Linked DNA regions of Homo sapiens: region 1 is linked to region 2. Evidence: promoter capture Hi-C in human tissues and cell types (Jung and others, 2019). All regions are on one chromosome and are shown on one strand. The core of a region is centred on a gene start or on the middle of the fragment in contact, and the rest is flanking DNA. Distances in the headings are between cores, read along the strand shown.

Region 1 (4,000 bases), core at 1,017-3,516, 160 kb before region 2:
AGGAGAGTGTTTTCAGACCCCACTGCTGACCTATAACTTGGGGGCCACCCGTATGAGGACACACCTCACCCCTGGGCTGCTGGAGAAATCTGGGAGCTGTTGTCTATCTGGGTGGTGACCAACACTGGCTACGGAAGCAGGTCCTTCGCCCCAGCCTGGCTCTGGTGGCCCTGTGACCCGGTCCTCTTTGTCTTCTAACAGTTTATTAAGACATAATTCACCTACCATACCACCCACTTGCTTATTTTATGTTATTTATTTATTTTTGAGATGGAGTCTTGCTCTGTTGCCCAGGCTAGAATGTAGTGGCACGATCTTGGTTCACTGCAACCTCCACCTCCTGAGTTTAAGGGATTCTCGTGCCTCAGCCTTCCAAGTACCTGGGACTACAGGCACGCACCACCATGCCCGGCTAATGTTTGTAGTTTTTGTAGAGACGGGGTTTCGGCATATTGCTCAAGCTGGTCTTGAACTCCTGACCTCAAGTGATCTGCCCACCTTAGCCTCCCAAAGTGCTGAGATTACAGGTGTGAGCTACTGTGCCCGGCCCCACTCACTCTTTTAGAATGTATAATTTGGTGATTTTTTTTTTTTGAGTCAAGGTCTCTCTGTAGCCCAGGCTGGAGTGCAGTGGTGCAATCATACCTCACTGCAGCCTTAACCTCCAGGGCTCAGGCGATCCTTCCACTTTAGCCTTCCGAGCAGCTGGGACTACAGATGCATGCTACCACCATGCCCAGCTAATTTTTGTATTTTTTGTACAGACAGGGTTTTGCCATGTTGCTGAGGCTGATCTTGAACTCCCAGGCTCAAGCAATCTGCCTTCCTCAGCCTCTCAAAGTGCTGGTAATACAGGCACGCACCACCGCACCCGGCTAATCTTTGTATTTTTTTTTTTAGAGATGTCATCTCGCTATGTTACCCAGGCTGGTCTTGAACACTTGGGTTCAAGCAATTCGCCTGCCTTGGCCTCCCAAAGTGCTGGGATTATAGGCATGAATCACCACACCCAGCCCCAGTATTTTTTTTTTTTTTTAGTATATCCACAGAGTTGTGCAACCATCATCACTGTCTAATTTCAAAACATTTTTATCTCCTCTAAAATAAACCTCATGCCCATTGAGCAGTTACTGTCCATTTCTACCTCTCCCCTCCCCTTGGCAACATCATTCTACCTTCTGTCTCTGTAGATTTGCCTATTTGGAAATTTCACATAAATGGGAGCATTCAATATGTGGTCTTTTGTGTCCGTGTTCTTTCACTTTGTGTAATGTTTCCAAGGTTCACCCAGGCTGTGGCATGTATCAGAGCTCCATTCCTTTTCATGGCTCAGTAATATTCCACTCTGTGGATCTACCACCTTGTGTTTATCCATATTCATCCCCAGATGGACACCTGGGTCGCTCCCACCTTTTAGCTCTTGTGAATAGTGCTGCCGTGAACATTCAGGTACACGTTTTTCTGTGGCCGTATGGTCCCAATTCCATTCAAACCTAGTACTGGAAGTGCTGAGTCATATGGTGACACAATCCTGAACATTTCCAGGAATGGCCAGGCTGTTTTCTGCAGCAGCTGCAGTGGTTCACGTTCCCGCTGGCACGGCATGAGAATTCTGATTCCTCCACATGCTCACCAGCACTTGTTGCTGTCTTTTTCACTGTAGCCATCTTAGGGAGGGAAGTGACACCGCACCGTGGCTTTGATTTGCATTTCCCAGGTGCTTTAACTGATGGCTGCTGTCTGCACTTGGGGCCATTAGCATACCAAACTCCCACTGGCTGAACCTGACACAATGAAAATGTCTGCTCAACATTTTACTTTAGTTCAAAAAGCGAACTGGGCTGAGCACAATGGCTCACGTCTGTAATCCCAGCCCTTTGGGAGGCCAAGGTGGGCAGATCACCCGAGGTCAGGAGTTTGAGACCAGGAGTTCGAGGCCAACATGGCGAAACTCCCTCTCTACTAAAAATACAAAAAATTAGCCAGGCGTGGTGGTGCGCACCTGTAATCCCAGCTACTCGGGAGGCTGCAGCAGGAGAATCACTTGAACCTGGGAAGTGGAAGTTGCAGTGAGCCAAGAGGGTGCCACTGCACTCCAGCTGGGGCAACAGTGAGACTTTGTCTCAAAAAAAAAAAAGAAAGAAAGAAAGAAAGAAAAGCTAACTGTGTGCATATGCGTTTGTGTATATTTTGGGAAAACTCCACTGATGGGCAAAGGCCCTGAGTGACGCTAGGCCCTGGCTAAATGGTGTGCAGCTGTGGGGGCCTTGGCTGCTCTCGGGCTGATCTGGGGTGCAACGTTGCCCATGCTGCTCACCCGATCGTCATGGTCACCGGGGTGCTCGTTATATCTGCAGGTGTGTGTGCGTTCATAGGTATGGGGAATCTCTGGAAGGGCCCATAGCAAACCATGACATGGACATTGGCCATTGGAGGGGAGCTGGGTGGGGAATCTCTGGAAGGGCCCATAGCACAACGTGACATGGACATTGATTATTGGAGGGGAGCTGGGTGGCTGGGGACAGAGTGGGATGAGCATTTTTCTCTGTAAACCTCCTCTCCCTAAGAAAGCCAAGTGAATACATTATTGGCATATAGTGCGCATTCCAGAAAGTGCCTGCAGCCTCAGCAGCACAATGAACTTCACAAAGTGAACAGGGCCAGGTGACCACCCCCTGGACAACAGCGGGAACGAGGCCAGCCCCCTGCAGGCTCCCTCATGCCCCTCCCAGCCCACAATACCCCATCCCCCGACACACTGAGATGCCCATTTTCCTGGAAACTTTATCCGTCAGAATGCTGCCTGTTCCTGAACTTCCTGACTGGGATTGCACAGTTGCTGCCTCCTATGCTGTGAGACTCACCTATGTGGTTTGTGCACCCCTCCGGTGCCCTTTTTCACTGCTGCATAGTATTCCATCGTGTGACTAGAGCACAATTTATTTACCCATTCTCCTGTTCATGGAGGTTTGGACATTTCCGGTTTCTGGTTATTTTGAGAAGCATTTTCTTCTTTTAGGGGCACACAGAGACCTTTCCCTACTTTGAAAATCTCAAGGCTTGTGACCACATTAGCTATTTAACAAATAAATAAGTTGAAAAATGTGAATGTGAGGTCCGGAGGTCTAGATTCCTCAGGGCTGGAGATGGGTCCAGGGATCTGCTTCCTCAGTGGTCATGCAGGTCTGGCAGCCAGGGCTGGAGGCCTGGCCACTGGGGGTGCAGGCCCAGAGTGCAGTGTGAGGCTGAGGGGTTGTGCCAGCTCTGCTGTCCCCAGACTCAGCCGAGGACTGAAGAACACTTCCCCCGACACTGGGCGGGATCCTGGGCAGCCAACCCTCCCGAGCAGAGCCCCGTCTGGGACCCAGACCCAGGGGTAGCCTGAGAGAGGAGGCTGGGAGCCTGCCCCCGGGCCCCCCTGGCCACGTGACGCCTGGCAAGCCTGCAGGCTGGTGCTTCTCTGCATGGGTAACAGCAGAGCTCTGGGCTCCCGTGTCTTCTTCCAGGGATTTGGGGGTGTCCCACAGCCCAGAGAGGGACACTGTTCTTCTTTTAATCTGGCTGTTGGAGTGCGTATTGGAAATGGTCTTCTTTAGCACTTCGTTAAACACTTTAGTTAATAGCAGCCTCCAGGGGATCCCACCGGAAGTCCTGTGGGCGGGAAGCACGCAGCTGCATCAATTAACCCTGGCGGTCTCCGGGGTGCAGTCAGACAGCGCGAGCCCCTCGGAAGGTGCCCGGCGCTGCAGTTAGACTCCAGACGCGGCAGGCCAATCACTCTGCTATCGGGGCCCCCATCGATCCGGACTGGTCAGCGTTTGCTGCCATCAGCAGCCTCCCGTCCTCATTAATAAATTAGGCTGTGCTTGGAACTGCTTTCTGTGAGGAGGTGTGGACAACGCTGGGTGCTGGGGGCTGAGACTGGGGCATTGCCCCCCTGACTCCCCACCCCAGCGGCCCCTGACGTCCTGGTCCTCCAGACTGTGGCGCAGGGCAGGCA
Region 2 (3,913 bases), core at 520-3,019:
GATTTCCAAGCAGAAGAGGTCATGAGAGGAGGTCCAAGCGCAGGACAAACACACCTTTTTAGACAAAGCTATTGGTGATAAACAGGCGTTTTGCCAGCGTCTGCCTCAACGCCTAGCACCCACAACCGCACACCGCACCACAGACCTGGACCCCACACCGCACCCACCGCAGAAAAAGAGGATTTCTTTGCTCCAGGGAAACATTTAATTATGCACAAATCATCTTGGAATTTTTAATCCACCAAGCTGACACTGTATTTTTAAAACAATACCATCAGCCATCTCCAAATGATAGCAAATTTACGGGAAAACAGTCGTAAGAAAAAGATGAGACCGGGGTTATTATTAAAAATTCAGACACCTTTTTTTCTCCCACTTTCTCAATGTGTTAACTGTTTAAGCTTCTGCCTCCCCTTCCTCAGCTGTTCCCTTCTGCAAAGCGATGAATAAATACATGTTTCCATCTGAATATTTTGCAGGCGCAAGGTAAACAGACTCGTTCGCTCCAGGCTGGGTGACAGAGCCTCGCGCGGAAGGTTGAGGCGGTGCGGGGGCGGGGGGGGGTCCCCTTCCCTCTCTCCTCCGGGTCGGAGCCAAGCCGGCCCCTCCTCCCCTCCTCGCCCCTGCCTGGAGACCTCACTTGGCCCGGCCTCCGCCAACCCACCACGCCGCTTCCCGGTTCGGACGCAGCCGCTGTTCTGGTGACTCGGGTGCTGCCGCCGGCCCTTCTCAAGCCGCCCAGGCTTTTGGGGGGCAGTTACCCACCCCGCTGTCCGTGAGGGGCCGAGCCCCAGAACCCCCACCCCTCCACTCTTCCCCAGCAGGCGAGCGCGAAGCGGGCCCGCGGCAAGGGGACGATATCTCGCCACCTGGAACAAAGGCGTCCCGGCGCGCCCAGAGCCTGGGGTCCGGATGGCAGATCCGGGAGCGACGCCGGGTCTTTACCTGAACTCGGGACTCGACCAGGTCTAGGCGCAGCGCCAGCGCCTCGCGCATGAACACGTCGGGATAGTGGCTCTCGTTGAACGCCTTCTCCAGCTCCTCCAGCTGCCAGCCGGTGAAGTTGGTGCGGGTGCGCCGCCGCTTGCAGCCCGGGCTCTCCTTGTCCGGGTCCCCCGAGTCTGCGGGCAGTCACAGGACGCAGCGCGGCTCAGCCACCGGCCCAGGCCCGACCCCCACCCCTCCCTCCCGCTACCCGCTGGCCGCCTGGATCCGGGGGGGGGGGCGCAGAGACGGCCGCCTAGGAGCCGGCTCTCCTTCGCCAGCCCCGGGCCCCCCAGCGCCTCGGCCGGACCAGGGCCCCCGCCCCCAGCCGCACTCCTCCCCGCCCTCCCGCCCGCCGCGCCTACCTGACAGCTTGAAGGGCTGGCCGTCCCCGCCGACCCCGCAGGCGGCTGGCAGCAGCGGCGTGGGGTTGACCACCGAGGCGGCGGCGGCGCACGAGCCCCCGAGCAGGCCGTCGATGGAGAAGGGCACCGAGGCGGCGGCGGCGGCCGACTGCAGCTGGTGCCCGGCCAGCTCGTACACGTGGTGGTGGCCCAGCGGGTAGGGGAAGCCCACCACGCCGCCCAGCGAGCCCCCGAACTGGGCATGCGGGTGTTCCAGGAGGCGGCCGTCCATCATCTCGCGCGGGGGGCCGGCGGGGCCGGTGGCGGGGCGCGGGGGCGCGGGCCGGGGCCGGGGCGGGCCAGCGGCGGGAGGCGCGGGCGGCGGCGGCGGAGACAGGGACCCGGAGCCCCACACATGCTTCGCCCGCACTCCGGCGCTTTACTTATCAACATCAAGCTCCCGATAATTAGCCGCGGCCCGGGGAATTTGGGACCAATAAGAAGCGCTAATCGGCTCTGACGTCAGAGGCGTGCTGGGTGCAGGGAAACGTTTTCCATATCGATTGCTAATTATACCTGACATGCACCTCAATAAACAGTATCAGGAACTGTCACAACAAGACGGGCTGGGGGCGGGGGGAGCCGGAGGGAGGGAGGGAGGGAGGGAGGGGCCGCCCAGGGCCGGGCAGGCGCGGGCTGGTGCCTGGGCCCGGGGCAGGGGCCCCCAGCTAGCCCCCCACTTCACTCGGGGCCGGCCCCGAGCCCGCGCCTCCCGCCAGCCGCCGCCTCCCCGCCCCTCCGCAAATCACTAATAGATTTCCCTTTAAAACATTCAGCGCCGTGTTGTGGGGATTTTTCACCAGAAATGCTGTACTCTCTGAACCTTTAAAGTGATGTTGCTCCAATTACAGAGAGACATTGAGCGGCAAATAGACTGATCCAATAATAGGAGATTCATCATCCGCTTTTCCGAAACTGTCACATTGAATTTAAAACTACAAGGCTTCTCATCTCCTCCTCTCCGGCTGCAGGCGGCGGGAGAGGAGGAAGGAGGAGGAGGAGGAGGAGGAGGGCGATCCCGAAAGAGAAGAACTACAGAATGTAGCACCCTGTCAATAAAGAGGCGTAACTAATGCCCTCTCTGATTGACTGGCAGTCGCCCTATCTACAAAGACAGAGGTGGGGGGGGCTGCGGAGGCTCCCCGACCCCCATCCCCATAAAGCCCGGGCGCAGAGGAGGAGAGAGGGATGGGGACAGGAGGGGAAAAGTAACTTTGGGGTGGGGCCGATCCGCCCCCACCCCCTTACACGCTCGAATAAAGATAAATACATCCGCTCTGACTCGGCCTCTGAAGGATGGGGCTGAAGCACCCAACCCATTTATTATAATTAAATTATGTTCTCAGAGAAGTGTCACTCCCTTCTCTGCTATAAAATATTGATAGACTCAAAGCTAAATCACTAAAGGATATATTCTTAAATAAGCAGCAAATCAGGATTGTGGGCAGCAAGGAAAGAAATGAGGGGATGTCGGTCCATCTCTCTCCTTTGTAAAAAAGTTTGTCAGTGGGGTGGTCGCATTTGGCTGCGGGACCCCAGTGCTGGACTAGTTGGGTTAGGGCCACCTCTCCAGCAGTGAGTGCCCCGAGCCTCGGCCAGCCCAGGGCGGGGAAGAGAGGAGGAGAGCTCCGGCCTGGGCTGGGCCAGTCTGCGGAGCCACCACCACCCCAGGGCAAAGTGACAGACCAGTTGGCTTTGGGTGTAAGTAAGTGACTTGGGCCAGGCCTCCAAGCCCTAGCCCGCGTGAGAGGGAAGGGCAGGCCGGGACCGTGCGCATCTCTGCGTCCCTCCGGGTCAGGTGCCCGTGCCTGGGCCGGGGAGGGTGGGGGGTGCCGGAAACGCTCAGGAGGGGAATGCTTGGGTTGGCGGGCGCAAGGCCACCCCGTCCTGCCACACGACTGCCTGTCCCTGCGACTGGACCCACAGTCTGGCCCTGTTCCTAACTGAAGGTCGTGGACGGGCCGATCCACGCTGACTCCGACTTCAATGACCCTCTTGTCTCTCCTTGCGGGAGAGGAGGGGACGGCGCAGGGTTGAGGACCAGGCCCAGCCAATCCAGGAGACCGAGAGGCGGCCTGGAATTTGGGGAGCCCCCTCCCTGTTTCCAGTCTCACTAGGAAAACGCTGCGAGTATTCATTCCGAGGTCAGAGGCCAAGAGCACTACTTTTCGCCATAATTTAATTTCTGTCTCTATAAATACTAAATGTAAACTCCGTCCATCCGACTCGATTTCGCCAGCAGCCACAAGCGCCTGGTCTTCTGTTGGGTTCGCGAGGAGGAATGCGCGCGGCGCGTGTTTCTGAATACAGAGCTGTAATCTATTCGGCCCGGGGGGAGGGCAGAGGAGGGGCGCGCGCCGGCCGAGCTCCCTCGCCCATCTCTCTTTATTATAATGAATTAATTCGACTTTATTTATCCCATTTTCTGGAGCTGACAGAATGTTAATTTGAGTTGAAATTTCGCTCGCCTCTCACTCTCTGACCCCTGGCCTTCAGATTGGCGTGTTGTAATAACCCGAATCTTT

What was found. Contacts are between HindIII fragments. The study calls those that stand out against the background at their distance.
Region 1: a fragment that was not itself captured here is called in contact with the fragment with the promoter of UNCX in region 2 in 1 of the 25 tissues and cell types used here (dorsolateral prefrontal cortex).

What each region holds. Positions count from the first base shown.
Region 1 is chr7:1,395,229-1,399,228 of GRCh38, reverse strand. No RefSeq gene overlaps it. Among named protein-coding and RNA genes, the nearest start is that of MICALL2, 62 kb to the left of the region's middle. The HindIII fragment of the contact is 6,630 bases long and covers 1-4,000 here.
Region 2 is chr7:1,230,728-1,234,640 of GRCh38, reverse strand. It overlaps UNCX (UNC homeobox), which reads right to left and starts at 1,769. Exons shown (of 3, transcript NM_001080461.3): 1 at 1,350-1,769; 2 at 946-1,121. The coding sequence starts at 1,623. RefSeq lists enhancers at 1-47, 220-764. The HindIII fragment of the contact is 11,886 bases long and covers 1-3,913 here.